4 separate regions of the Homo sapiens genome follow, and regions 1, 3 and 4 are each linked to region 2. The links are contacts of gene promoters, found by promoter capture Hi-C in blood cells and fetal thymus (Javierre and others, 2016). All regions are on one chromosome and are shown on one strand. Each heading gives the region's core, a stretch centred on a gene start or on the middle of the fragment in contact. The rest is flanking DNA. Distances are from core to core; before and after follow the strand shown.

Evidence for each region. The method cuts DNA at HindIII sites, captures the fragments that hold promoters and counts their contacts. A CHiCAGO score of 5 or more calls a contact.
Region 1: a contact is called between a fragment that was not itself captured here and the fragment with the promoter of DPPA3 in region 2, in 13 of 17 cell types (total CD4 T cells, non-activated CD4 T cells, naive B cells and 10 more). The highest score is 14.2, in total CD4 T cells.
Region 3: a fragment that was not itself captured here is called in contact with the fragment with the promoter of DPPA3 in region 2 in 1 of 17 cell types (naive CD8 T cells); the score reaches 6.7 in naive CD8 T cells.
Region 4: a contact is called between a fragment that was not itself captured here and the fragment with the promoter of DPPA3 in region 2, in 6 of 17 cell types (M0 macrophages, M2 macrophages, total B cells and 3 more). The highest score is 7.9, in M0 macrophages.

The regions. Positions count from the first base shown.
Region 1 is chr12:7,233,699-7,241,045 of GRCh38, forward strand. It overlaps the pseudogene LOC100420983. Among named protein-coding and RNA genes, the nearest start is that of PEX5, 48 kb to the left of the region's middle. The HindIII fragment of the contact is 179 bases long and covers 3,309-3,487 here.
Region 2 is chr12:7,705,441-7,712,759 of GRCh38, forward strand. DPPA3 (developmental pluripotency associated 3) reads left to right here and starts at 5,993. Exons shown (of 4, transcript NM_199286.4): 1 at 5,993-6,212. The coding sequence starts at 6,131. RefSeq lists an enhancer at 2,271-2,896. The HindIII fragment of the contact is 13,723 bases long and covers 1-7,319 here.
Region 3 is chr12:7,254,459-7,261,281 of GRCh38, forward strand. No RefSeq gene overlaps it. Among named protein-coding and RNA genes, the nearest start is that of ACSM4, 46 kb to the right of the region's middle. RefSeq lists a silencer at 4,652-4,852. The HindIII fragment of the contact is 875 bases long and covers 3,974-4,848 here.
Region 4 is chr12:7,203,971-7,210,678 of GRCh38, forward strand. PEX5 (peroxisomal biogenesis factor 5) reads left to right here. Exons shown (of 16, transcript NM_001351132.2): 11 at 3,689-3,832; 12 at 4,040-4,110; 13 at 4,487-4,699; 14 at 5,035-5,200; 15 at 5,713-5,870; 16 at 6,052-6,708. The coding sequence ends at 6,253. Among named protein-coding and RNA genes, the nearest start is that of PEX5, 18 kb to the left of the region's middle. The HindIII fragment of the contact is 437 bases long and covers 2,991-3,427 here.

The sequences.
Region 1 (7,347 bases), core at 2,148-4,647, 470 kb before region 2:
AAATAAAATGTTCTTTAGGATTTTCTTAGAAAAAACTCTTTCCACAAAATCAACAAACCCTATAACTATGAAAAGTAAAAGAGAAAAATACTCAAAGAAAGAAAATCAGGAGTGAAAGAGGAGACACTGCAACTCCTGCCACAGAAATGTGAAGAATCCCTAGAATAATTATACGTCAACAAAATGGACAACTTAGAGAAAATAAAGTCCTGAAAGCATACAACCTACCAAGACTGAATTATGAAGAATTAAAAAGTCTGAACAGACCAATAACAAATAAGGAGATTAAATTAGTAATCAAAAACCTTCCAGCGGGTGTGGTGGCTCACGCCTGTAATCCCAGCATTTGGCAGGCCAAGGCTGGTGGATCGTTTGAGGTCAGGAGTTTGAGACCAGCCTGGCCAACATGGTGAAACCCTGTGTCTACTAAAAATACAAAAATTAGCTGGGTGTGATGGCACGCACCTGTAATTCCAGCTACTTGGCTGGCTGAGGCAGGAGGATCGCTTGAACCCGGGAGGTGGAGGTTGCAGTGAGTGAGATTGTGCCACTGCACTGCAGCCTGGGTGACAGAGCAAGACTCCATCTCAAAAAACAAACAAACAAACAAAACCCCAAAAAACAAAAAACAAAAAGCCTTCCAACAAAGAAAAGCCCAGACCCAAATGGCTTCACACATGCTTTCTACCAGAATGAGGGACAAAGATGACTTGATAATCTCAAAAGATACAGCAAAAGCATTCCACAAGATTCAACACCCTTTGATGATAACAACTCTCAACAAATTAGGTATAGAAGGAATTTACCTTGACAAAATAAAGGCCATATATAAAAAGCACACAGCTAACATCATACTCAACGGTCACAAACTGAAAGCGTTTTCTCTCAGATCTGGAACAAGGAAATGATGTACATTCTCACCACTTCTATCCAACATAGAATTAGAAGTCCTAGCCAGAGTAAGTAGACAAGAAAAGAAAATAAAAAGTATTCAAATCAGAAAGGAAGAAGTAAAATTATCTCTGTTTGCAGATTACATGATCTTATAGATGTGCAGAAAATTATATTTCTATATATGATATATAGAAAATTCTAAAGATTTACCAAAAAAACTTAGGATAAACAAATTTAACAAAGTTTCAGGATACAATATCGATGTACCAAAATCAGTTGTGTTTCTATACACTACAATAAATTGTCCAAAAAGGAAATTAAGAAAACAATTTTGGCCGGGTGAGGTGGCTCACACCTGTAATCCCAGCAGTTTGGCCGGCCAACGTTTGGATCACTTGAGGCCAGGTGTTTGGGACCAGACTGACCAACATGGTAAAACTCCAGATCTCTAAAAATACAAAAATTAGCTTGGCGTGGTGGCACACGACTGTAATTCCAGCTACTTGGGGGGCTGAGGCAGGAGAATCGCTTGAACCTGGGAGGCGGAGGTTGCAGTGAGTCGAGATTGCGCCACTGCACTCCAGCTTGGGTGACAGAGCAAGATTCTGTCTTAAAAAAAAAAAAAGTTTAACTCATAGATCCAGAAAGTGAATTGGTGGTTGCCAGGAGCTGGTGGGGAGGAGAAAACAGGAAGGTATTCATCAAAGGGTACAAAATTTCAGCTACACAGAGAATAACTGCTAGAGATCTACTGTACAGCATAATGCCAACAGTTAACAATACTGTATTATATTCTTAAAATCTTGCTAAGGAGATATTTTAAGTGTTCTTATTACCAAAATAATAATAATAATAAAGTCAGAGGGTGGAAGGAAACTTTTTGGAGGTGATGAATAGGTTTTTAATTTTTCAATTTGTCAAAATGAAGTATTGTAACTTAATTTCTTACATTCCCCATCCAACACACACGTGTGCACACACACAACTTCCCACAGAGAAAAGGCCAGGCCCAGATGGCTTCATGGTGAATTCCATCCAACATTTAAGGAAGCATTAACATTAATCCTTCACAAATTCTCCAAAAAATATGTAAGACCAGGATTTTGGAGGCTGGGCCTCAAAATGGGGTCATAGTATGAGCCACGATTATCTTGACACCAAAACCAAAGACATCACAAGAAAAGAAAACCACAAATTAATATTCCTTATGACTATAGGTGCAAAAAAATTCAAAAACATACTAGCCCACCTAACAAGGAACATATAAATGGAATATATTTCACAACCACGTGGGATTATACCAGAAATACAAAATTGGTTCAAACTATGAAAACCAATTAATATACCATATTAGTAAAACAAAGGACATAAATCACCTGATCATCTGAGTAGATGCAGAAAAATCATTGACAAAATTTAACACCTATTTATGGTAACAACCCTCAACAAACTAGCAATGAAAGGGAACTTTCTCAACCTGTTAAAGGACATATACAGAAACCCCACAGCTCACATCATACTCAACAGTTAAAGACTGAAAGTGCTCCCATTGAGATCAGGACTTACAAGAATATTCACTCTTGCCACTTCTATTCAACATAGAGGTGTTCTATCCAGGGCATTTAGGCAAGAAAAAGAAATAGCATCCAAATTGGAAAAGAAAAAGTAAAACTATCTCTATTCAACAGATAACATCACAATGTATATAGAAAATCCTGAGGAATACATACATACAAACACATACACACACTATTAGAGCTAATAATTGAGTTCATCAAAGTTGCAGGATATAAGATCAATATATAAAAATTATATCAACTGTATGTCTATATAATATCAATAAACAATCAAAAAATAAAATTCATAGAACAATTTCATTGAAAATAGAATCAGTTTTTAAAAATCTCATTTAAAATTGTATTCTCCAGATAATTTATCTAATTTACTAGACTTAGTACTAAATGCCACTTTTTTCCCTAAAGTCTAAAGTTTGCCATCAAAGTATGAAGATCTACTATCTCTGAGCACCTTCTGATCCTTAGAGCTGGTGCTTCCTATATAAAAGTTTCAAAGTATTCAGCAAGGATAATAAATTCAAGATGAGTATGAAGATTGCTTTCCAAGGTGATAACCTGGAAGGTTGTGGCCTCAAAATTGAGGTAGCATCTCAGTCCACTTTTTAACTCATGTCACATTACTTCACGGTCATATCCTCTATTTTAGTCAATAAAGAAGCCACTCAGCTGAAATAACTCATTATTTTCAAATTTTTTTTTTATTTGCTCCCAACCTGCCTTCCAATCCTTGAAAGGAAAAAATAACACCACCTCCTATACTGTTATAAAACTGCCAAATCTGTTTTTAAAATTTCATGTTTTTTATATTTATTTTCTTAAACATTTGATGACTAATTAAGCTTCCTGGTTGGAAAGGCCTTCCCGAGATGCTGGTTTCTTAAAACTTTGTACTAACCAGGCACTGGAGCCCTTACCTGTATCACCTTATTTCATCCTCACAATAAAGCTATACAGTAGGTGCATTTTTAAATCTCTGCTTTTCTAGATGAGGAAACTGAGGTTCAGAGAAGCATCCAAGCTTCTCAAAGTCAGAAGGTGTCAGAGTGGACATGCAAACCCAAATGTTTCCAGCTCTGGCACCCTCACACTCACCACCCAACCACACCCCTCTTAGGTTGCCCAGTTTCTAGGTACACTGACCAAGCACTTTCCTGGAATATTGAATGGGGGTAGTAAGGCTTAAGTTTAGATCCTGTGTTTAGATCTGGTAGGAAGAGCACAAATGGTTTGTAAGGAAAATCCCTTTAATGGTTACCTAATTTCAGATTGTGGGTGAAAACTCAAATATCCTGTCTCTAGGGGAAGAAGGAAATATTACAATTCATATAAAACTAAACCAACCTGTTTCTCTGTACTGTCCACACATGGTAAGAAAAGTTTCTTTTTCTCTAAATACTTTCATTGTTGCTACTAATCATAGTGCCATTGTTTTTGAGTACTTTATGATTTGTCAAGTACTTTTGTCCCAACTTTTAATTTTGCAAATTTTTGAGTCTACAAGTGTCAAAATAGTAGCACAATGAACACCTACTTGTACATCTCTCACCTATATTCACTTATTATTAAAATTTTGCCTCATTTACTTTATATTTGCTTTTTTCTTTCCTTTTTTGAGACAGAGTCTCACTCTGTCACCCAGACTGGAGTGCAGTGGTGCGATCTCTACTCACTGCATCCTCCGCCTCCTGGGTTCAAGTGATTCTCCTGCCTCAGCCTCCCGAGTAGCTGGAATTACAGGCACCCACCACCATGCCTGGCTAATTTTTGTATTATTAGTAGAGACGGGGTTTCACCATGTTGGCCAGCCTGGTCTCAAACTCCTGACCTCAAGTGATTGGCCCACCTTGGCCTCCCAAAGTGCTGGGATTACAGGCATGAGCCACTGCACCCGGCCTATTTGTATATTTTTAATGAGACATTTGGGAGTAAGTGCAGACATTATGATACTTTGTTCTTAAATATTTCAGCAGCATTCTCTGAAGAACAAAGATTTTCTTCTTAATCATCAGCATTATTACATCTATGAAAATTAAAAATAATTCTTTAATTCTATCTAATATCCAGCCAATATTTAGATTTTCTCAGTTGTACTCGAATGTGTTTTACAGCTTTGGTAAATCCAGAATTCAATCAAGGTTCATTTATTTATTTGGTTCTCATATCTCCTTAGTTATTTTTATCTAAAACTGTCCCACCACCATTGTTTGTTTTTCATGACATGGACATTTTGAAGAGTAGAGGACTGTTGTGTTAGAAAATGCCTCACTTTCTAATTTCCTTATAATGAGATCCGAGATAAACATCTTTCTCAAGAATGTTATGTAGGAAATGTGTAGTTCTTATTTGCTTATATTGAGGAAACATTGTGTTGTCTCGTTTTGGATACTGACAGTTTTGATCTTTCGATTAAAGAGGTGACTGCCATTTCTCTCCATTGTAAAGGTATATTTTCCTCTTTGTAATTAGTATGTAATCTGTTGTGTAATAATTTGAGACTGCGTAAGTATCCTATTCTCCAGTTAACTTTCACCCAACTATTTTAGCATCCATAGATGATTCTTTTCTTTTCAGAATCAATTATTAAAATAGAGAGTGGCTGGGCACAGTGACTCAAGCCTGCAATCTCAGCACTTTGGGAACCTAAGGTGGGCAGATCACTTGAGCCCAGGGCATCAAGACTAGCCCGGGCAACATGACAAACCCCATCTCTACTAAAAAAAAAAAAAAAAAAATTAGCCAGGCATGGTGATGTGCACCTGTAGTCCCAGCTACTCAGGAGGCTTAGGTGGGAGGATAGACTGAGCCCAGGAGGTCAAGGCTGTAATGAGCTGTGATCACACCACTGTGCTCCAGCCTGGGCAACAGAGCAAGACCCTGACTAAAAAAAAATTAATAAAATAAAATGGGAGGTGCAGTATGTATAAGAAAGTGCTATTTCTTATACATTAATTAGGTGACATTATTCCATAAAGATGAGCAGATCACGGTCCATATTTTCTATAAAGGGGAGCTTTCTTTTAATTATTTTAAAAATACTTGTATTTATTTAGCCTTTCCTGATAATAAAACTCATTTATGTTCAATACAAAAAACTTTGAAAAATATAGAAAAGACCAAAGAAGAAAAGCCTGTCCATTCATAATGCCACCATTATCACTCACCATGAACATTTGGTGTGTATATATCCTTTATTCTTTTTCTATTTATGTGTATTGTTTATCAAAATGGGATTATTTTCTATCAGCTTTTGTGAAGCCTGTTTTTTTACTTATGATTTTCAGATACAAGTAAATCTTATATGACTATTTATTTATTTATTTGAGACAGAGTCTTGCTCTGTCACCCAGGCTGAGTGCAGTGGCACAATCTCGGCTCACTGCAACCTCTGCCTCCCGGGTTCAAGAGATTCTCCTGCCTTGGCTTCCTGAGTAGCTGGGATTACAGGTGCTCGGGACCACACCTGGCTAATTTTTGTATTTTTAGTAGCGACAGGGTTTCACCATGTTGGCCAGGCAGGTCTGGAACTCCTGACCTCGTTTAGTGATCCTCCCACCTCGGCCTCCCAAAGTGCTGGGATTACAGGTGTGAGCCACCACACCCCGCTCTTATATGACAACATTTTAAATAATTGTATAGAATCCTATCAAGGACAACTATGATGATCTATTTATCATATCTACCATTGTTGAAAATTTTGGTTATTTCCAATGTTTTATACTGTAAATACTGCTTCAATGAGTATTCTTGTTAACTCTTTAAATGCTTCTTTGAGTATTTCTTGTGGAGTTTTTGAGTTAAAGCCTAGGTAAAACATTTTAAATAATTTAATATTATGAATTTCTGTAAGAGAATATTGCTTAATATTTCCAAACTTTGACAAGACAACTTAATACGCTGAAACTTTAAAATCTTGTTCCCACCCGTAAGACACAGATTCCAAAGAAGAGATGCAGATCTCAAATACCTACTGGGATTATTATGTTGTTTGGGAGTGAGCTGCTTACACAGCGTTTTACTGGAGTTCATTAGAACTTCAATAAGCAGGTTGTCCATTAGATGTAAGAATCTGAACAAATTAGTCACATGGTCTCTATGGCAACGAGTAAATGCTGTTAGAATCTGTGAACACTCCACAGAACAATCCAGCAAAATGGGCCTGCCTCATGCAAAGGAGCATTTTTACCAATCCCTTTCATTGTGTTTCTGGTATAAGAACCTTAGTCTAAATGCACCTTTTTCTGATGAAATTTTTGTCATGGGCAGTGTGAAAATTAAAGGAACAATTCAAAGCCAGGGAGCAGTGATTGCATGTGATGAATGATGAGCCTGAGAAAACAGCAGCCAACAACCCTTACACAGTCCGTACCTGGCCCTTTGCTAAAATGCTGTGTTCATGTTGCCTCATTTAAACCTCAGGACAAACTTGTGAGTGAAGTGCCATTATTATTCCTGTTTCCAGCTGGGCCAGGAAAAAAAAAAAAAAAAAGAGCTGAGATTAAGAGAAATGACCAAGAAAAGTTCTCCATGTGTGTTGAGTTTTCTATGTGGAATCCCCCGGAGAGTGGGGATCCTGACTTATTTTTCTCAGTCTCCCTTATGGGTAGCCACAGTGCTCAATTCATATCATTAAATGATTGTGAAAGGGAAGTAAATATAGGTTTCTGGATTTGTCATTTTATCAGGTGAGCTGGGAGGAATATTCTTCAGCAAGAGGCCACATGCTTTACCTCACAGGGGACAGAGGGATCAGGGATAAAGATGGCTACTCTGGTTGTCTGGTAGAGCTGATGATGTTGCTGATGCGTTGGGTCAGAGGTTGTGAATGCTGTGGTTATTGCTATTGAGCTTGGGGCTGAGAGAGTTTGGAGAAGATGCT
Region 2 (7,319 bases), core at 4,743-7,242:
CGAGACTCTGTCTCAAAAAAGAAAAAGAAACAATGAAACACAAAGTTATTCTTAGGCAACACCCCACCAGCATTACTCCCTGTACATTCTGTGGAGCTCTATAAATACACAAAACAAGTCTTTCCTGAAATCTCATCCTTAAGCAAATCTGGGAATGCTAACAGTATTTACTACCCTCTTCTGAGAGGCCCGAGTGACCTTTAGTCAGGGTTCCAGATAGCCTCACTCAAACAGCGCATTTTGGGAAATCTACCACCCATCTTCCCCTCTTTCTATCAGAGCCACCATTTCTTCCAGCAAACTCTTTAGAGGGCTGTCATCGTATTGTCATCATTAAGTATTTTCCACTAAGCTATTAAATAATTGGCCCTGGGAGTATTAATTTCTCACTGTGGAATTCCAAAAACTAAGGAGGATTCCTGGAGAGGAAGGCAACTGAGGGCTGCGGGAGGTGAGGAGGAGGCGTGGACGCCAGGAGTTGTTTTGCTCACACGCCCCGCGGCGTCCCGCCTAGGTGAGCTCCGGACCCTCCCGCCCCACCCCAGCGGGGCTGCTCGACTCCGTCGTGCCCCCTTGGGCTTCCACTGCAGGAATGCAAGGCGGGTAACCTTCAAAGCCAGGTGGAAACGTCCGGTTTGAACCGCACATATGCTAGGGTGGAGAGTGAGAACGAATGCAAAGAGAGGCTAGCGTTGGGGTGGGGCTGCCGGGGCAAAGGGACAGGCCCGGGGGAGGCCCGGGCCGCCACGGTTAGAAAGCATGGAAAGAGCTTAAGTAAAATAGCTGCGTGTCGGCAGGGCGCGGTGGCTCACGCCTGTAATCTCAGCACTTTGGGAGGCCGAGGCGGGCGGATGACCTGAGGTCGGGAGTTCCAGACCAGCCTGACCAACATGGAGCAATCCCTGTCTCTACTAAAAATACAAAATGAGCCGGGCGTGGTGGCGCGTGCCTGTAATCCCAGCTACTGAGAAGGCTGAGGCAGGAGAGTTGCTTGAACCCGGGAGACGGAGGTTGAAGTGAGCCGAGATGGCGCCACTGCACTCCAGCCTGGGCAACAAGATCGAAACTTCATCTCAAAAAACAAAAAAAAAAAAAAGAAAAAAAAAGAAAGAAAAGAAAAATAGCGGGCCGGGCACGGTGGCTCACGCTTATAATCCCAGCACTTTGGGAGGCCGAGGCGGGAGGATTACCTGAGGTCGGGAGTTTGAGACCAGCCTGACCAACATGGAGAAACCCCGTCTCAACTAAAAATACAAAATTATCCGGGTGTGGTGGCGCATGCCTGTAATCCCAGCTACTCAGGAGGCTGAGGCAGGAGAATCGCTTCAACCTGGGAGGCGGAGGTTGCGGTGAGCCGAGATCGTGTCATTGCACTCCAGCCTGGGCAACAATAGCGAAACTCCGTCTCAAAAAAAAAAAAAAAGAAAGAAAAATAGCTGCATGTTGGTAGGGTTTTCCAAAATAGCAGCCCTCATCTTCCCCTTACCAGGCTTTCCCTCTCTGGAATACCATACACACACATACACGCACACACACACATATACATGTGTGTATGTATATATATATGAATTTGTTTCAAAATGGGAGGTCAAAAAAATATATATTTTTGTGACAGGGTCTCTGTGGCCCAGGCTGGAGTGCAATGGTGCAATCATAGCTCACTGCAGCCTTCAACTCCTGGGCTCAAGCCATCCTCCTGCCTCAGTGACCCGTATTGGGTACCCATATCGGGGACCACAGGCCTGTGCCATCAGCCCCAGCTAATTTTTACATTTTTTGGGGGAGACCTTGCCTCGCTTTGTTGTTCAGGCTGGCCTCAAACTCCTGGGCTCGAGAGATCCTCCCACTTCAGCCTCCCAAAGTGCTGGGATTACAGGCCTGAGCCGCCATGGTCGGTCCACTTAAAATACGTTTAAATAAATTTGTTATGCTTACCTCTTGTTAATCTGTCTTCTGTTATAGAAGTGTCAGGTATGAGGCTGGGCACGGTGGCTCACGCCTGTTATCCCAGCACGTTGGGAGGCTGAGGCGGGTGGATCACCTGAGGTCAGGAGTTCGAGACCAGCCTGGCTAACATGGTGAAACCCTGTCTCTACTAAAAAAAATTAGCTGGACATGGTGGCTCATGTCTGTAATCCTAGCTACTCGGGAGGCTGAGGCAAGAGACTCGCTTGAACCTGGGAGGCGGAATTTCTGCTCCCACTTCAGCCTTCAGAGTAGCTGGGACTGTAGGCACGAGCCACCATGCCCAGCTAATGTTTGTATTTTTTGTAGAGACAGGGGTCTCACTATGCTGCCAAGGCTGGTCTTGAACTCCCGGGCTCAAGTGATCTTCCGGCCTCCGCCTCCCAAAGTGCTGGAATTATAGGATTGAACCACCAGGCCCAGCCCTGTTTCCTCTATACACATAACAGATTTTCATAACTGAACTTACGAACTTTTTAAAATTATAACTCTTTACCATGTATCATTAAACACTTAAATAATTTTCATTACTCATCCAGACTCAATGCAATGTTCTTGTGGATTTCCCTATGTTCATTCTTGCTCCCCTTTCCCCTTCTCTTATGTGTTTTACAGCTGATAATTGTTTTCTCCCCCATTTTTTTCTTTTTCTTACTCCCCTCTTTCCTTCCCCACCTTTTTTTTTTTTTTTTTTTTTTTTTTTTTTGATACAGAGTATTGCTCTGTTGCCCAGGCTGAAGTGCAGTGGCCCATCCAGGCTCATTGCAACCTCGCCCTCCCTGGTTCAAGGGATTCTCCCACATCGGCCTCCCAAGGAGCTGGGATTACAGGCACATGCCACCATGCCCCGCTGATTTTTGTATTTTTAGTAGAGATGGGGTTTTGCCACGTTGGCCAGGCTGGTCTCAAACTCCTGGCCTCTCTGTTGGCCTTCCAAAGTGCTAGGATTACAGGCATAAGCCACTGTGCCTGGCCCCTTTACCCCTTTTTCCCCCACTTTTTTAAATTCAAAAAGTTGTATGTGCATATACTATAAAGTAGCACATAGTTCTAAGTTTCTTAAAACAGACACATGTCCCAACTGCCGTCCTCTGTTGCATTTTTCATTTTCTTTTTCCTATAAGCACCCACTTTAAACTTTGGTATGGATGGCTTTTGGGGGGCATTTGTGTATTTCTTTTCTTTTTTTTGTTTTTGTTTTTGAGACAGAGCCTCTCACTGTGTCACCCAGGCTGGAATGCAGTGGCGCAATCTGGGCTCACCGCAACCTCTGCTTCCCGGGTTCAAGCAATTTTCTCACCTCAGCCTCCCCAGTAGCTGGGCCTACAGGCATGTGCCACCACACCCGGCTAATTTTTGTATTTTTAGCAGAGGTGGGGTTTCACCATGTTCGCCAGGCTAGTCTCAAACTCCTGGTCTCAAGTGATCTGCTCCCAAAGTGCTGGGATCCCAGGCGGGAGCCACCACGCCCGGCCTTTGTGTATTTCTGTAGAGCAAGTTTTTTTGTTGTTTTGTTTTGTTTTTGAGATGGAGTTTCACTCTTGTTGCCCAGGCTGGAGTGCAATAGCATGATCTCGGCTTACTGCAACCTCTACCTTCTGGGTTCAAGCAATTCTTCTGCCTTAGCCTCCAAAATAGCTGGGACTACAGGCATGCACCACCACGCCTGGCTGATTTTTGTACTTTTAGTAGACACGGGGGTTTCACCATGTTGGCCAGGCTGGTCTCGAACTCCTGACCTCAGGTGATCCACCCACTTTGGCCTCCCAAAGTGCTGGGAGTCCAGGCATAAGCCACCGTGCCTGGTCTATAGAGCAAGTTTGTAATGATATGTCTTGATTTTTTCCATTTAGGCATCCTTGCTTGACTTCTAACGTGCAGATGTGGCTTTTTTCCTCTTCCTTCTCATGTATTAACATATTTCAAATTTGGTTCCTCATCCTTCTAATTTGCTTCTTTTCTTTTTTATTTGTCTTTTTTTTTTTTTTTTGAGACTGAGTCTTGCTCTGTCACCCAGGTTGGAGTGCAGTGGCACGATCTTGGCTCACCGCAACCTCCACCTCCTAGATTCAAGTGATTCTCCTGCCCCAACCTCTTGGGTAGCTGTGATTACAGGTGGTTGCCACCATGCCCGGCTAATTGTTGTATTTATTTTGTTCTGAGATGGAGTCTTGCTCTGTTGCCCAGTCTGGAGTGCAGTGGCATGATCTCGGCTCACTGCAACCTGCACCTCCTGGGTTCAAGCAATTCTTCTGCCTCAGCCTCCTGAGTAGCTGGGACTACAGGCGCCTGCCACTACGCTCAGCTAAATTTTTGTATTTTTAGTAGAGATGGGGTTTCACTGTGTTAGGCAGGATGGTCTTGATCTCCTGACCTTGTGATCCGCCCACTTCGGCCTCCCAAAGTGCTGGGATTACAGGCGTGAGCCACTGTGCCTGGCCTAATTTTTGTATTTTTAGTGGAGACAGTGTTTCACCATGTTGGCCAGGTTAGTCCCGAACTCCTGGCTTCAAGCAATCCACCTGCCTTAGCCTCCCAAAGTGCTGGGATTACAGGCGTGAGCCACTGTGCCCAGCCTAGGTTTTTTACAAATGAGAGTCTATTTCAGCCCTTTTTGTTATCTCACCTCCTAATCCTAAACCCCCTGCAATGGGATTTTTTTGTATTTATCTCTCCAGTGAAATTCTTGCGGACTGATTATCAGAGATTCCCCAGGCAAGAGGGAGATTAGCCAAGAGCTGAACAACAGAAGTAGAAAGTTCACAGTGCCGTAAAGCAGGGCTGCTTAACTTGAGCACCCATCAGAATCACCTGGGGATCACTTCTGGGTCTTCTGGCTAAATGCAGAATTGCCTGGGAGGCTTGTTAAAGCATTACCACTGGGCGCCAGTCTTTGATTCAGTAGGGCTGGTTTGGAGCTCAGAATTTGTATATCTAAGTTAACTAGGTGCTTGTTGTAAACTGCACTTTTTTTTTTTTCCCAAGAGGCAGGGTCCTGCCCTGTCTACCAGGCTGGAGTGCAGTGGCACGATCATAGGTCACTGCAGCCTTTAACTGCTGGGTGATTAAGCGATCCTGGAGACCACACTTTTGAGAATCACTTGCATAAAGTGTTGGGACATGATCTATGCCTATGGCTGCTCATTCTCTATGAAAATATTTCTTAATCATAACTTCAATTTTTGCTTTTTACCAAACCCAAACAAGGTTGCCTTTGAGTATTTTCTCGTGGTTTCCACCTAGAGAGGGAATGGGGGAACGTGCGTATTTGAATAAGACGGGAAAAAGATGAGAGGGGCAGCTGGGGACTTGTTCTTCCACCTCCTGCAGACAATCAGTGGTTAAATGTTGTTGTGCTTTGCTACAAATACAAGCATTTTTTTGTGGGGAGGGAGTAGCAATTTGTAAGGTTAGTTAATTTCAGCTGCTCAGAAATGTTAGGTACTGTTTATAGTTTATAAAGCAAATTAACAAATAAAAAATACATGTCCCTAAAATATCAAGCTATGAAAGTGTTCATAACAGATACTTCTTCATTATTCCTCTCTTCTTAGTAGCAGCAAAGGTTTAAGATGATTGAAGCAAGGAAAACTTAAAGGAAACTTTCTCAGCTTAATTGGGAGTTTATGGGCAGTGGTGGTGGTGGGGCGGGGGCGGTAAAAACTGCCATTCTCCTCTGCACTAGAACACTTAAGCCCAGTTCACAAAACAGAAGCCATCTCCAGGAGTAGAGTTTGGGAAAAAAAAAAAAAAAAAAAAACAAGAAAAAAACAACTTATATGTAAGGCAACCTCAGGGAGACAGAACCACAAAAAGAGGATTTTAATAAATTTTCTAGCAGATATGACATCCGACAGATTATTTTAATGCAAAGCAGATGAAGAACTACCCTATGAGTCTAAACTACACCCATTCACCTTTAATCATTTGGATCCCTTAATCCTCTAATCATGGGATCATTAACATTCAAATATCCTGGAAGATTGGCTTATCTGTATTTTAAAAGGAAGCCGGACCTATAGTTTACGTCAGTTCTTTGACCATTCGTTGGAGCTCCGGTTTTCAGCCTCTTTCCGGGCTACCTGGTAGCAATTTGAGGCTCTGTCATCAGTTTCTGCTACGTTTCAAAGATCCTGGAGAAGCCTAGTGTTGTGTCAAGACGCCGATGGACCCATCACAGTTTAATCCAACCTACATCCCAGGGTCTCCACAAATGCTCACCGAAGAAAATTCCCGGGACGATTCAGGTAAGCCAGATAATGCCCTTCTTGACTATCTGACTATAGGGGGGTTGGGAGGTCAAAAGGCTGCCGTCTTTTTTTTTTTTTTTTTTTTTTTTTTTTTAATGTTGACTTCAGTCTTTGCAAGAGGAATGTATTTAGGTAAACCTCAAACCAGAGGGAGTCAACACAGAGAGGTCAAAGACTTTATTAAAAGCGGTGATGGTGGTGGTGAGAAATGTATTATTTTATTCACTATGCTTAGGAGTACTTCAGATTTCTTTCTTTTTTTTTCTTTTTTTTTTTTTGAGACGGAGTCTTGCTCTGTCGCCCAGGCTGGAGTGCAGTGGCGCGATCTCGGCTCACTCCAAGTTCCGCCTCCTGGGTTCACGCCATTCTCCTGCCTCAGCCTCCCAAGTAGCTGGGACTACAGGCGCCCGCCACCGCGCCCGTTTTTTTTTTTGTATTTTTGGTAGAGACGGGGTTTCACCGTGTTAGCCAGGGTGGTCTTGATCTCCTTACCTCGTGATCCGCCCGCCTCGGCCTCCCAAAGTACTGGGATTACAGGCTTGAGCCACTGCGCCCGGCCAGTACTTCAGATTTCTAAGACCAGTTTCTGGGGATAAATAATTGGAATCACAGAACGCGGCTCGTAGCGTCGTTGCATCAGTATCTTCCCCAACAGCAAATACATGTCAGGAACGGTAAAAAGGAACAAATACAGAGACCAAATAAACAAAAGATAGGGAAAAAAAATGAAACAATATGAGAAACTTTAACTTCAGTTGAACCTAAAGTTTTTCTTAATCTCTCGCCAACATTATTTTTATTTATATATTTTTTTGAGACGGAGTCTCTGTCGCCCGGGCTGGAGTGCAGTGGCGCGGTGTCGGCTCACTGCAACCTCCGCCTCTCGGGTTCAAGCAATTCTCCTGTCTCAGCCTCCAAAGTAGCTGGATTACAGGCATGTGCCACCACGCCCGGCTAATCTTTTGTATTTTTAGTAGAGACAGGGTTTCACTATGTTGGCCAGACTGGTCTCGATCTCCTGACGTCGTGATCCGCCCACCTCTGCCTCCCAAAGTGCTGGGATTACAGGCGTAAGCCAGCGCGCCCGTCCTATTTTTATTTTTA
Region 3 (6,823 bases), core at 3,161-5,660, 450 kb before region 2:
AGAATACTACAAACACCTCTACGCAAATAAACTAGAAAATCTAAAAGAAATGGATAAATTCCTCGACACATACATCCACCCAAGACTAAACCAGGAAGAAGTTGAATATCTGAATAGACCAATAACAGGATCTGAAATTGTGGCAATAATCGACAGCTTACCAACCAAAAAGAGTCCAGGACCAGATGGATTCACAGCCGAATTCTACCGGAGGTACAAGGAGGAACTGGTACCATTCCTTCTGAAACTATTCCAATCAATAGAAAAAGAGGAAATCCTCCCTAACGCATTTTATGAGGCCAGCATCATCCTGATACCAAAGCCTGGCAGAGACACAACCAAAAAAGAGAATTTTAGACCAATATCCTTGATGAACATTGATGCAAAAATCCTCAATAAAATACTGGCAAAACGAATCCAGCAGCACATCAAAAAGCTTATCCACCACGATCAAGTGGGCTTCATCCCTGGGATGCAAGGCTGGTTCAATATACGCAAATCAATAAATGTAATCCAGCATATAAACAGAACCAAAGACAAAAACCACATGATTATCTCAATAGATGCAGAAAAGGCCTTTGACAAAATTCAACAACCCTTCATGCTAAAAACTCTCAATAAATTCGGTATTGATGGGACGTATCTCAAAATAATAAGAGCTATCTATGACAAACCCACAGCCAATATCATACTGAATGGGCAAAAACTGGAAGCATTCCCTTTGAAAACTGGCAGAAGACAGGGATGCCCTCTCTCACCACTCCTATTCAACGTAGTGTTGGAAGTTCTGGCCAGGGCAATTAGGCAGGAGAAGGAAATAAAGGGTATTCAATTAGGAAAAGAGGAAGTCAAATTGTTCCTGTTTGCAGACGACATGATTATATATCTAGAAAACCCCACTGTCTCAGCCCAAAATCTCCTTAAGCTGATAAGCAACTTCAGCAAAGTCTCAGGATACAAAATCAATGTATAAAAATCACAAGCATTCTTATACACCAATAACAGACAAACAGAGAGCCAAATCATGAGTGAACTCCCATTCACAATTGCTTCAAAGAGAATAAAATACCTAGGAATCCAACTTACAAGGGATGTGAAGGACCTCTTCAGGGAGAACTACAAACCACTGCTCAGTGTAATAAAAGAGGATACAAACAAATGGAAGAACATTCCATGCTCATGGGTAGGAAGAATCAATATTGTGAAAATGGCCATACTGCCCAAGGTAATTTATAGATTCAATGCCATCCTCCTCAAGCTACCAATGACTTTCTTCACAGAATTGGAAAAAAATACTTTAAAGTTCATATGGAACCAAAAAAGAGCCCACATCGCCAAGTCAATCCTAAGCCAAAAGAACAAAGCTGGAGGCATCACGCTACCTGACTTCAAACTATACTACAAGGCTACGGTAACCAAAACAGCATGGTACTGGTACCAAAACAGAGATATACATCAATGGAATAGAACAGAGCCCTCAGAAATAACGCTGCATATCTACAACCATCTGATCTTTGACAAACCTGAGAAAAACAAGCAATGGGGAAAGGATTCCCTATTTAATAAATGGTGCTGGAAAAACTGGCTAGCCATATGTAGAAAGCTGAAACTGGATCCCTTCCTTACACCTTATACAAAAATTAATTCAAGATGGATTAAAGACTTAAACGTTAGACCTAAACCCATAAAAACTCTAAAAGAAAACCTAGGCATTACCATTCAGGACATAGGTATGGGCAAGGACTTCATGTCTAAAACACCAAAAGCAATGGCAACTAAAGACAAAATTGACAAATGGGATCTAATTAAATTAAACAGCTTCTGCACAGCAAAAGAAACTACCATCAGAGTGAACATGCAACCTACAAAATGGGAGAAAATTTTCGCAACCTACTCATCTGACAAAGGGCCAATATCCAGAATCTAGAATGAACTCAAACAAATTTACAAGAAAAAAAAAACCCATCAAAAAGTGGGCAAAGGATATGAACAGACACTTCTCAAAAGAGGATATTTATGCAGCCAAAAGACACATGAAAAAATGCTCATCATCACTGGCCATCAGAGAATGCAAATCAAAACCACAATGAGATACCATCTCACACCAGTTAGAATGGCAATCATTAAAAAGTCAGGAAGCAACAGGTGCTGGAGAGAATGTGGAGAAATAGGAACACTTTTACACTGTTGGTGGGACTGTAAACTAGTTCAGCCATTGTGGAAGTCAGTGTGGCGATTCCTCAGGGATCTAGAACTAGAAATACCATTTGACCCAGCCATCCCATTACTGGGTATATTCCCAAAGGACTATAAATCATGCTGCTATAAAGACACATGCACACGTAAGTTTATTGCGGCACTATTCACAATAGCAAAGACTTGCAACCAACCCAAATGTCCAACAACGATAGACTGGATTAAGAAAATGTGGCACATATACACCATGGAATACTATGCAGCCATAAAAAATGATAAGTTCATGTCCTTTGTAGGGACATGGATGAAATTGGAAATCATCATTCTCCGTAAACTATAGCAAGAACAAAAAACCAAACACCGCATATTCTCACTTATAGGTGGGAATTGAACAATGAGATCACATGGACACAGGATGGGGAATATCACACTCTGGGGACTGTGGTGGGGTTGGGGGAACGGGGAGGGATAGCATTGGGAGATATACCTAATGCTAGATGACGAGTTAGTGGGTGCAGCGCACCAGCATGGCACATGTATACGTATGTAACTAACCTGCACCATGTGCACATGTACCCTGAAACTTAAAGTATAATTAAAAAAAAGAAAGAAAAAGGAATATAATCAAGGCAATGGTTAAAAAAAAACCATAGAATCTTTAAAATTCCGAGTCTACCATGATGCTCAGGGTGGGTTGGGGGATGAAAGGGTGGAGGGAGAAAAATTCCTTTTTGAGGAAAACTCTGGTTAGTAAAAGTAGAAAGAATAACAGAATTTGGAAATCAACATTTTGCAATCTCCAATGATTGATTTAGATAAGGATCATAACTGGATGCTATGTCCTCTAGGTGAAAGTTACACTTGCAAAGTGTGGCTGACACCATCTGAACCAAGTGAACAAATTTAACATCATCAATAGTGGGACAATCTGACATCATGTGCCTAGTAAGATGATGCAGTGCGTTATACATGGATTATTTATGAAATGTCCTGCTAGAAGTGTTTATCCTGAATCTAATCGGGCTCCAGCTTAATTTAAAGTCTGTGAAAGTTTTAAAATATATTACCCATTTCCCTCCAGGAAGATGACCTCAATTTATACTCTCAGCAGCGTAGTAGACTGCCAGTTTCCCTGAACAAGTTAATTGAGACCACAAGGACACAAAAATACACAGGCAGTATGTGAGATATTCATCAAGACAACAACTGATCTGGATTCTTCTCAAGACAATGTCATGGGTAAAAAAAGCAAGAGAATTCTTCTACATTACAGGAGACGTGCTTGAATCCTGGACTTTTAAAAAAGCTATAAAAGACATTTTGGGACCATTGAGGAATTTTTAGTGTGGAATGGTTATAAATGATATTTAGGAATTATGAATGTCTTCGATGGTCATAATATTCTCCTATTATGGCTATATGGGAGAATGTCCTCATGTTTTAAAGATGAATGCTGAAGAATTTAAAAAAGAAAATAATGTCTGCAACTTACTTTCAAATGATTTAGAAAAATCATGTAAATAGGGCAACAAGTGAAAATACCCCAAATTCTTCTGACTCTGAAGGTCCACAAAACATACTTGAAAAACCACTGGGCTAGGCAATGAACAATCTGGATTCCCCAAATGAGTACTTATGATGGTGACTGGGTGGAGGTCCTGGAAACCTGAAATCTATCCATTTGTGTATGTCTCTCCCAGTGCCTCAACACCTGCAGTTCCTTAAGGCAGCTTCATGAATGAACTTGTTCCCACTGGTTCTTTTTCTGACATGTGAAAGCTTTTATAATCTCAGATCCTGTCTCTTTATCTCATAATAAAGAAAGCTCCCCTCAGCATCTATGTCAACACAGACAAAGGGTTCAATCTGCCAAAATGCCTCAGCAAAGTCTGGCTCTTGACTACAACTGGGGTGTGGGATGAGGTGGCTTTTTCCTCTGATTTCACAACCTCTAAAGGAAATGGATTTTTATTGTTTCTTTTTCTTCTGTAAGCTAAAGGAACTAGGGCTCTAGAGTGGCTTCTACCACTAAGTTCCATCCTTCAACACCAACTGACTCAAGAAAAAACAGTGCAATAAGAGACCACAAACAACTTCCTGAAACACGAAAATAAAATGCATATATTTTCACCTGAATATTTAGAACAATAGGACTTAGCATTAGAAGACTGGGTTCAAATCCTGATTCTGCTTTTAACAAGTAGTGGACGGGTTATGGACAACTAATATCCTAAGCCTCAGTTATTTCACCTGAAAATTGGGGTGCTAATGATAATAAATGCTATGGAAATAAGATGAATAATAGCCATGGAAATAAGATGAGTTAATGGCTATGAACGTGCTTTGTAATATGAAAATGCTATAAAATGATCCTAGCTAGTCTAGTTAACTGAATTAATAAATGAATAATCTGAAGGCCAACAAGGACATGACTTGATTGACATTACAAAGCAAATTTATTTATCTGTTCAATACATTCTCTCCTGGGTTAGGACTTACACTAAAATATGGAGGTTAACTAGACTGTCCTCTTACTACATGTAGATGTATTTGTAGAGATCCATATAGATACATAAGAAATACAGCTGTCTCGCCAAATTTACTGAGTCATCCCAGCACCATACTAAGAGTTTGGGTATATTACTTCACTGAAGCTTATGACTGTCCTATGAGAAAAGTCCTATTATTATCCCCATCATATGAATAAGAACAGTGAGGATACAAAAGGAGAGATTATAAATGCCTGAAAAATATCAGTGAGAATGTAGGAGAAGAAATGGACTTTAGATTGAGCAGGTTGAATACACAGAACATAGAAAACCAATGGGATATAAGGATTAAGGAAAAAAGAGATGACAAGAAACCATGTTGCTATAATTGAGCAAATATTAATGCTATACAGAGGGAAGAACAGGTTGGTGGGGAAAATTTCCATTCATTTAACCAATATTAACTGAGCACTTAATATGTGTCTGACAATATTATAAGCTCTAGGGATATAGCAATAAAAAATATTGGTAAGAGTTCCTATTTTCCTGAACTTATATTCTGGGAACAGGGGAATATGTTCAAGAATTGTTATGTTCTTGATTTTTTGAGGCGCTCATTGAACATTTGGGTGAAGATGTCCAGGAAATACCAGGAAATAGTTGGAGAAATGGGTTTAATTCTCAAAAGAGTTGTTTAAATGAGAGATGAACTTGGGAAATCTTCAGTGTATAAATGGTGATTGAATTTATGAACATGAATGAGGTCACTCAGGCACAGAATATAGTTCCAGAAGAACAGCAGGCTAAAGGTGAAGCCCTTGCAATGCCAATATTTAAGAAGAAGAGTCCAAGAAAGAGATGAAGCAGGAACAGTTAGACAGGTAAAAGGAATGGCAGAAGAGAATGATATGATAAAAACCAAGGAAAGAGAAAGTTATAAGAAGGAATGGTTAGTAGTTTCAAATGCTGTTAAGAGATCAATATGTATAATGAACAACTGAATGTGGCACCCAGAGGGTCCCTATGATTATGGCAAAGGCAGCTTCAGGAGAGAAGTTGGGGCAGGAGGCCAATGTAGTATGTGGAGGGGTGTCTAGAAGAAAAGTCTGTAAAAGCCTCAATTAAAGTGAACTTTTCTGTTGAGAACTTAACCTGCCAGCATGGGCAACATAGCGATACATCATCTTTACAAAAAATAAAAAATTAGCCAGGCATGGTGACACGCACCTGTGTTCCAGCTACTCTGGAGGCCAAGGCAGTAGGATTGTTTGAGCTCCGGAGTTTAATGCTAAAGTGAGCTGTGATCGGGCTACTGCACTCCAGCCTAGGTGACAGAGAAAGACCCTATCTCAAACAAACAAACAAACAAAAACAACAACAACAACAAAAAACTTTATCTGGAGAGAAATATTAATATAAGCAACAGGAGACCAAGAGTGAGGTATTGGCTTTTAAAATAGAGGAACAATGTCAGCGTGTTTGACTGCTTGTGAGAAAGGGTCAGTAACAGAGAAGCTGGAAGAGAAAAGAGAAGGAAAAATGGGTGAGGCCACTGTAGAGACAAAGAGGAGGGATCCAGAACACCCTCCTCCTGACCCTGGACGCAGGGAAGGTGGGATGTAGAAGAGAAAAAATGAGTGAAAGGGAAAGACTCCAAGTTGAGGAAGTTGTTGCTGATGGCTTCTGCAAGGAGGAGGTAATTTTACCTATATTTTCTCACTTTCTTTTATGACAGTTTTTTGAGACAGGAACTCAAAAAATAGTTTTTTGAGAAACTATTAGTGTCCTCACTTCATTAATGAGGAAACTGAGGTTCAAAGAGGTTAAATGACCTGCCCTTGGAAATTTGCAGGGTCAGAATTCAAACCCAGACATTTCACTCAAGTCCCCTAGTCTTTCTTAATGATCACTAGAGAGAGAAATTTAAGGAAAAGAAACATCAATGCCTTCAAACCCAAGAAACCTTCAGAATGATGGTAACCACTGAGAGAAAAGAATAAAATGGACAGGAAAACAGGATAGAGCAAAGGCTGTAGGTACAATAATCGTAATAAAAATGGGTATTTATCTATAGCGTTATCTCTTTTTTCTCCCTATAACAAATAGTTAAACAATATAAACTATGTAAAGGGGCATGA
Region 4 (6,708 bases), core at 1,959-4,458, 500 kb before region 2:
TTTTAAGTTCTTATCTTTTATAGGTAGTAGCCACTTGCCCTAATTTAGGGTTTTCAAAGAATTTATATTAGATAACTTAAATATTAGGGAAATTTCTTAGTAGTATGAAAGATGATTGCATTTTGCCTATAGCATGTGCTGTTGACTTAGAAGCATATGTTACTTCTGGGGTCTTACTGAAAAACAAATCTACCTGTGGGTTGTAGGATATTTGGGGATGTGTTTAATAACTGAGCTCCTGAGTTGAAACATGAAGAGGGGAAAGAATCACTTGGTTTTGAAAAAAGGCAAAACAGGAACTGGGGATGTGAGTAGTGATGTCTTTTTCTCAGTTCAGATCTGGTTGGGAAAGTATTGTGGGGCTGGAACCAGGGCCTGAGATGCAAACCAGGGTGCTGGAGATGGATCTTGATGTAATAAGGGAGCTATGCAAAGATGGGAAGATGCAGTTCAGAAAAAGGCTAGAGTTTGAGAGCCAGTGAAGAACAGTATTAGGAAAAATATGATTTTGCTTATTATTCCAGTCTGATCTGGATTTTTCTAACTATCCTGTGTGATATAAGGGAAAAGACAGCTGGGACCTTGCCATGTATTTCACTAGACTATGAGTTCATTGTATATAATTTTGATAAGGAAGAACTGAAGGAAATATAGATAACACTTTTGTTATTATTTTGTATTAACAATTTGATAAGTCACATAGGCCCCATCAACTTATAAATGGAAAGTTGTACATTTATGTAAAAATGTCCATGCTTTTCATACATATAGACATAATACTAGTTTTGTATGAGCAGCATTTTCTTTTATCATTTATTACTCTCGTATTTATGACATGCTGGCCAGAATACATTTTTTTTTTTCAGACACATAGAACAATGTGACAAATTAGAAAGCAAATTTTTTTTTAGAAAAAAAATCACATTTGATCAGGTTCCAAGAATAGAAATGTGGAAAGGATAGTCTTTTCGATAAATGGTATTGGAGAAACTGCATATCCATGTGCAAAAGAGTGAAACTGAACCGTTACCTCACACTATGTACAAAACTTAATCCAAAATGGCTTAAAGACCCAAATGCAGTACCCAAAACCGTAAAATGCCTAGAAGAAAACATAGGGAGAAAGTTTCTTGACATTAGTCTTTGCAATGATTTTTGGGATATGAGCTTTTGGTGTCATATCCAGAATACATTTTTTAATTAAAAACTTTAAAAGTATGTTTGTAGATTCTTGAGCCCTACTTGATATCATTGATACTTTGGGATATTGCAAAATTAGGACTAGAAATACTTGCATTAATGTTCCTCAAAAAGTGATGTAGTAAGCAATTAGACAGTATCTGGCTTTAAGCTAATATTGAATTCCATGTCAATAGAACTTTTTAAAAACAAAGGACTTGACTCTTGATTGTTACATAAATTCATGGATCTCTTTGAATGCACTGTTTGTTTATTGATAGCCCTTATATTTTCAGAGACAATTTACATTGCAGCTCAGGCAGATATTAATATACTATTATGATAAAAGAGAAGTATGTGATGGGACAAACTCTTTGTAGTGATCATTTCTGCAGTTTGATCCTATGAGATTTTGGAGCAGACCAGACCGTGTATCAGATAAAATTAATGACTTGGGTTTGGCTTTTCAGGATGTAACAGTGAAGCCAAGCTTATCCTGTGTTCTGTGGGTTGTTGAGGGATCCCCCAGAGTACTCTTTTTCCATCATCTATGCAAATATTCTAATTTTGGAAAATTCCTCTTTGATCAGCAATTGATGAGACTTCAAGGAGGGTAGATAATATGGATGAGAGGAAACTTAGAGAATCCTGTGGTTGCAAGATGGTGGCATTGAGTTGTTGTATTATCTAATGAAGACACCTGAAGAGCATTCGCATCACTTCTGGCTGTCATATACAGGCCATCATATCTTAAGGAAGTATCTAGAGCAGTGAGGATAATAGCTATTTACAGATAGTATCTTAAGCTTTTTGGTAAGGCGTTGGTGAAGATTCCCATTTGATGTTCTCAATGGCTCTGAGAGGCAGGAATTACTTTTATTAGGAAACTGCATTATAGATGACAGTAATCTCTGTTTTCTGTAGAGTGGCTTAAAACACGTATTAATGATGAACAATAGTTGAGGTTGAATGCAGAAGGATTTATTTTATTGAACTGTAATAGTCTAGGGCAAGGGCCAGCACACTGGCTTGTGGGATAAATCTTTATGTTTTTAGTGATCCACTAGCTGAGGATGGTTTTAACATTTTTAAATGGTTGGAGAAAATCAAAAGAGTAATACTTTGTGACAAGTGAAAATTATATAAAATTCAAATTTTAGTGTCCATAAATAAAATGTTATTGGAAGACAGCCGTGCTCATTTGTTTACTTATGTCTGGCTGCTTTCGCACTACAACAGTAGAGGTGAGTAGTTGCAGCAGATCCACGAAGCCTGAAATATTTATTATCTGGCCCTTCGCAGAAAAAGTTTGCTGATCACTGGACTAGCGTCATTTTCTGCCTTCTTAGTTTTTATATTATGCAGAGATGTCCAAAAACACACTTGTTTTCAATATAAATATACTTTCTATACATTTATCTCAAATCTACTATAATATGTCTTTCTTCTTAAACCCCCCATTGTAATTATTTAATTTTCATTTGTGACAAATAATTTGCATCTGATCATGACTTAGAATTTTGCTGGTAAGATTTAAGTGTTTTTGATTCTTTATCATTTTCACAATAATAATGAAAAAGGGCCTCATGTCTTTATTTTGTACAGTTTTATCTGAATTTATTCTTAACTGCATTTAGAAAGACCTCCACCTGTTGTTTTGCATCTTGTTTTCGTTCTGGTGTATTATTTTATGATGGTAACTACTCTCCAAAAACGGACTTTTTATTTGCATGTCCCAGATTTTGCAGCTTACTAGTGACTTCCCCTTTACCTCATTTCTTCTCTGCCTAGTGTAAAATGCCAGTTGACAAAGCTTTGCAGATAGTATCGTAACTCTTCTCTAAAGTGAGAAATCCTCAGCTGGAAGAGAATGGTGTCTTTCTGAAGTATTCTCTGCCATCTGGATTTTGGGATCCAGCTTTTGCTTACTGTCAGATACAGATTAATATTCATGATTATTAAGAATGAAATCGGGGAATAAATTAACATTTTCAAAATGCTTGAAAATGTTTTATCTAGTTGACATGTGGAATGACTCTGAGCTAAGTAAGAGTTATATTTGAATAGCAGGACTCCAAACAACATTTCCTTTATACATCATCACATTATTGAAGGATAACAAGAAATGCACTTTGCATAGCTAGGGACACTTTGTCTCATTACTATAAGCAGATCCTGTTGAGACATTCTGCCCCGTGGTGAGAAGTCAAGGTGTGGGAATACAAGCCTGTGATGACTTCCTAAAATAAGCTTATTTCCAGCGCAGATGAATTTGTAGACTTTCCTAGCTTCCCAGGTATCATGAACAGGAGATGGGAGCACAAACCTGATACCAAATGATTTTACTTGTGTCATACATGATCTTTATAATATGGAGAATTTGCCAGCAATTAATTCCGGAACCTGTTTGGAGGCCCTCAGCTTCTCTGCCTGCTGGTTGTCATCCTCACATCCCTGCTGTTCTGACGGTGCCACCTCTCAGTCCATCTCTCACGTGCTTTTCTTGTAGGGGTACCAGTTTGAGGAGGAGAACCCCTTGCGTGATCACCCTCAGCCTTTTGAAGAAGGGCTGCGGCGCCTTCAGGAGGGGGACCTGCCAAATGCTGTGCTGCTTTTTGAGGCAGCTGTGCAGCAGGATCCTAAGCACATGGAAGTGAGTGACTCCATAGTCTCATTTCTGGCTAGAGACTGCTTCCTCCATCTTGAGAAAGGCCCCAAGGAGAGTAGTGCAGATGGGTTAGGGCCTGGGTGATGGCCTAGGATAGGGGCTTGAGAGCGAGATGGTGAGTGGGAGAAGCCAGGGGGAAGGGCGAATGGAGAGGTGAATATGGGGTGATGGAATCTGTCAACTTCCCTCTAGGCTTGGCAGTATCTGGGTACCACCCAGGCAGAGAATGAACAAGAACTATTAGCCATCAGTGCATTGCGGAGGTGAGTACACTGAAAGGTGTGGGTGAGGTGCTTCCAAGGCTCTGCATATAACCTTTTGAATGACAGAAGCCCAGACCTGGATCCTTGTCTTCTTTCTGAGTGCTATCAAGAGTGTTTTCTCATGCTGAAACTCTGAGGGTTGGAGTGAATTCCATTCCTTCATCGGCTTTTGATTTTATTTGCGGCTTTGGTTGGCTCCTTGCCTGCTAAAACCTTCCCCTTAGATCTGTAACTTTATTATTAACTCATGTCAGAGGAGTCACAGGTGAGGCCATTGTGACTCTGCATTTCAAAGCTTGGCTTGGATCCCAGGGTGCTCACATGTGCCAGTGTCAGTCATTGCAGATATCAAGTCTGCCCATCCCTGATCAAACAGGTGTCTGGAGCTAAAGCCAGATAACCAGACAGCACTGATGGCGCTGGCTGTGAGCTTCACCAACGAGTCCCTGCAGCGACAGGCCTGTGAAACCCTACGAGACTGGCTGCGGTACACACCAGCCTATGCCCATCTGGTGACACCTGCTGAAGAAGGGGCTGGTGGGGCAGGACTGGGCCCCAGCAAGCGTATCCTGGGATCTCTCTTGTCTGAGTGAGTATGAGGGGTTCCTAGGATGAGGAATTACAGTAACCTAAGTCCCAGTAGGAGGGTGACCTTGGTTTTGGAAGTTTGGATGGATTGAGACTGAAGGGTCCTGAGAATGGGATGGGAAACCTAGGATCAAGTTGAAGGAGGTCTGCATTCTACAGTTCAGTGCTAGGATGAAATAGAAAAACAGGCTTCTATATTGGACTTTGAGAGTAGAAGAGATGACTGATAGATTGATGAATGTTGGGGATATGGTTGATCAATGAAGAAATTAATTTGGGGGGATGGGAATAGAGACATTCATCTACCTACTTTGTGTTTTTTTCCTTTTCATCCAGCTCCCTGTTTCTTGAAGTGAAAGAGCTCTTCCTGGCAGCTGTGCGGCTGGACCCTACCTCCATTGACCCTGATGTGCAGTGTGGCTTGGGAGTCCTTTTCAACCTGAGTGGGGAGTATGACAAGGCCGTGGACTGCTTCACAGCTGCCCTCAGCGTTCGTCCCAATGTGAGCCCAGGGGAGGAATGGAAATGGGACATGACTGTGTACCTTATTGAAGAGCCATTTGTTGGGAAGCTGGGTTTGATGGTGCATGCCTGTAGTCCCAGCTACTTGGGAGGCTGAAGTGGGAGGATCACTTGAGCCTGGGAGTTCAAATCCAGCCTGGGCAACATAGCAAGACCCTGCCCACCCCCACAAAAAAGAATAATTTGTTCAGACTTTTGGAGTCTTGGGGTATTTCATTCCAGTGTTCCATGTACTGACTGCCTTGGGAGGACTGGGAAAAGAAGGCTGGGAGTGTAGGGTCATCTGGACATAAGAGAGTCTGCATAGGGTGAGAGGGGCTACATTGTAGCCACACACCGAACTGTTGAGAATGGAATGGGACGAAACATGTTAGCTAACAGAGTAGTGAAACAGCTGGAGTAATGTGCAGAGTTTGAGCTGAGTCGGTGGAGTAATGTGCAGAGTTTGAGCTGAGTCAAGCTGTTCCCATCCGTTCTGCATCCCTATCCCAGGACTATTTGCTGTGGAATAAGCTAGGCGCCACCCTGGCCAATGGAAACCAGAGTGAAGAAGCAGTAGCTGCGTACCGCCGGGCCCTCGAGCTCCAGCCTGGCTATATCCGGTCCCGCTATAACCTGGGCATCAGCTGCATCAACCTCGGGGCTCACCGGTGAGAGTATCTATTGAGAAATGAATGAATGAGCTTTTTCTCCCTGCCTTTGGCCCTAGCTCCTTATTCTTAGATCCTGTTTGACTAACCAGCCCTAGCTTTCTCCCTCCCACTGCTAGCTGACCTGCTTCCTTCCATTGTTGTTCAGCTTAACAGCTCTCATTCCTCTTCTTCCTTACAGGGAGGCTGTGGAGCACTTTCTGGAGGCCCTGAACATGCAGAGGAAAAGCCGGGGCCCCCGGGGTGAAGGAGGTGCCATGTCGGAGAACATCTGGAGCACCCTGCGTTTGGCATTGTCTATGTTAGGCCAGAGCGATGCCTATGGGGCAGCCGACGCGCGGGATCTGTCCACCCTCCTAACTATGTTTGGCCTGCCCCAGTGACAGTGGGACGGGCTGCCCTGTGAGTGTCCACCTGGAGGGATCCCCGCTTTGGATGTGATTCCCTCTCCCCAAATGGGCCTACCAAGGGGGCGGGCTGATGACCATAAGCGGTACGGCCTTTCAGGAGCTGCCTCAACGTAGGGGTGGGTAGTCTGTGTTCTAGTTCCTACATAATTGTAGGAAAATGAGCTGTGTCATCTCTGAGTCCCTTGGTAATTCAAGGGCTGTACATCCAGCTACAGATCTCTCTGCTCATCATGCCCTTTCTTGGTGCTGCTTTTTGGGTAGGACCCCACGATTTAGGGTAACTGTTATCATCAGCTGCCATTTCTGATAGGGTCTACCACATCTGTAATGTCTGTCCTTTCCCCCACTTTTACTGGGAATTGATAGTCCAGCTTCCTTGGGCAGTGTAAGTAGGAGGTTCATCTGCTGTGCGCCTCTAATGTCTGTCT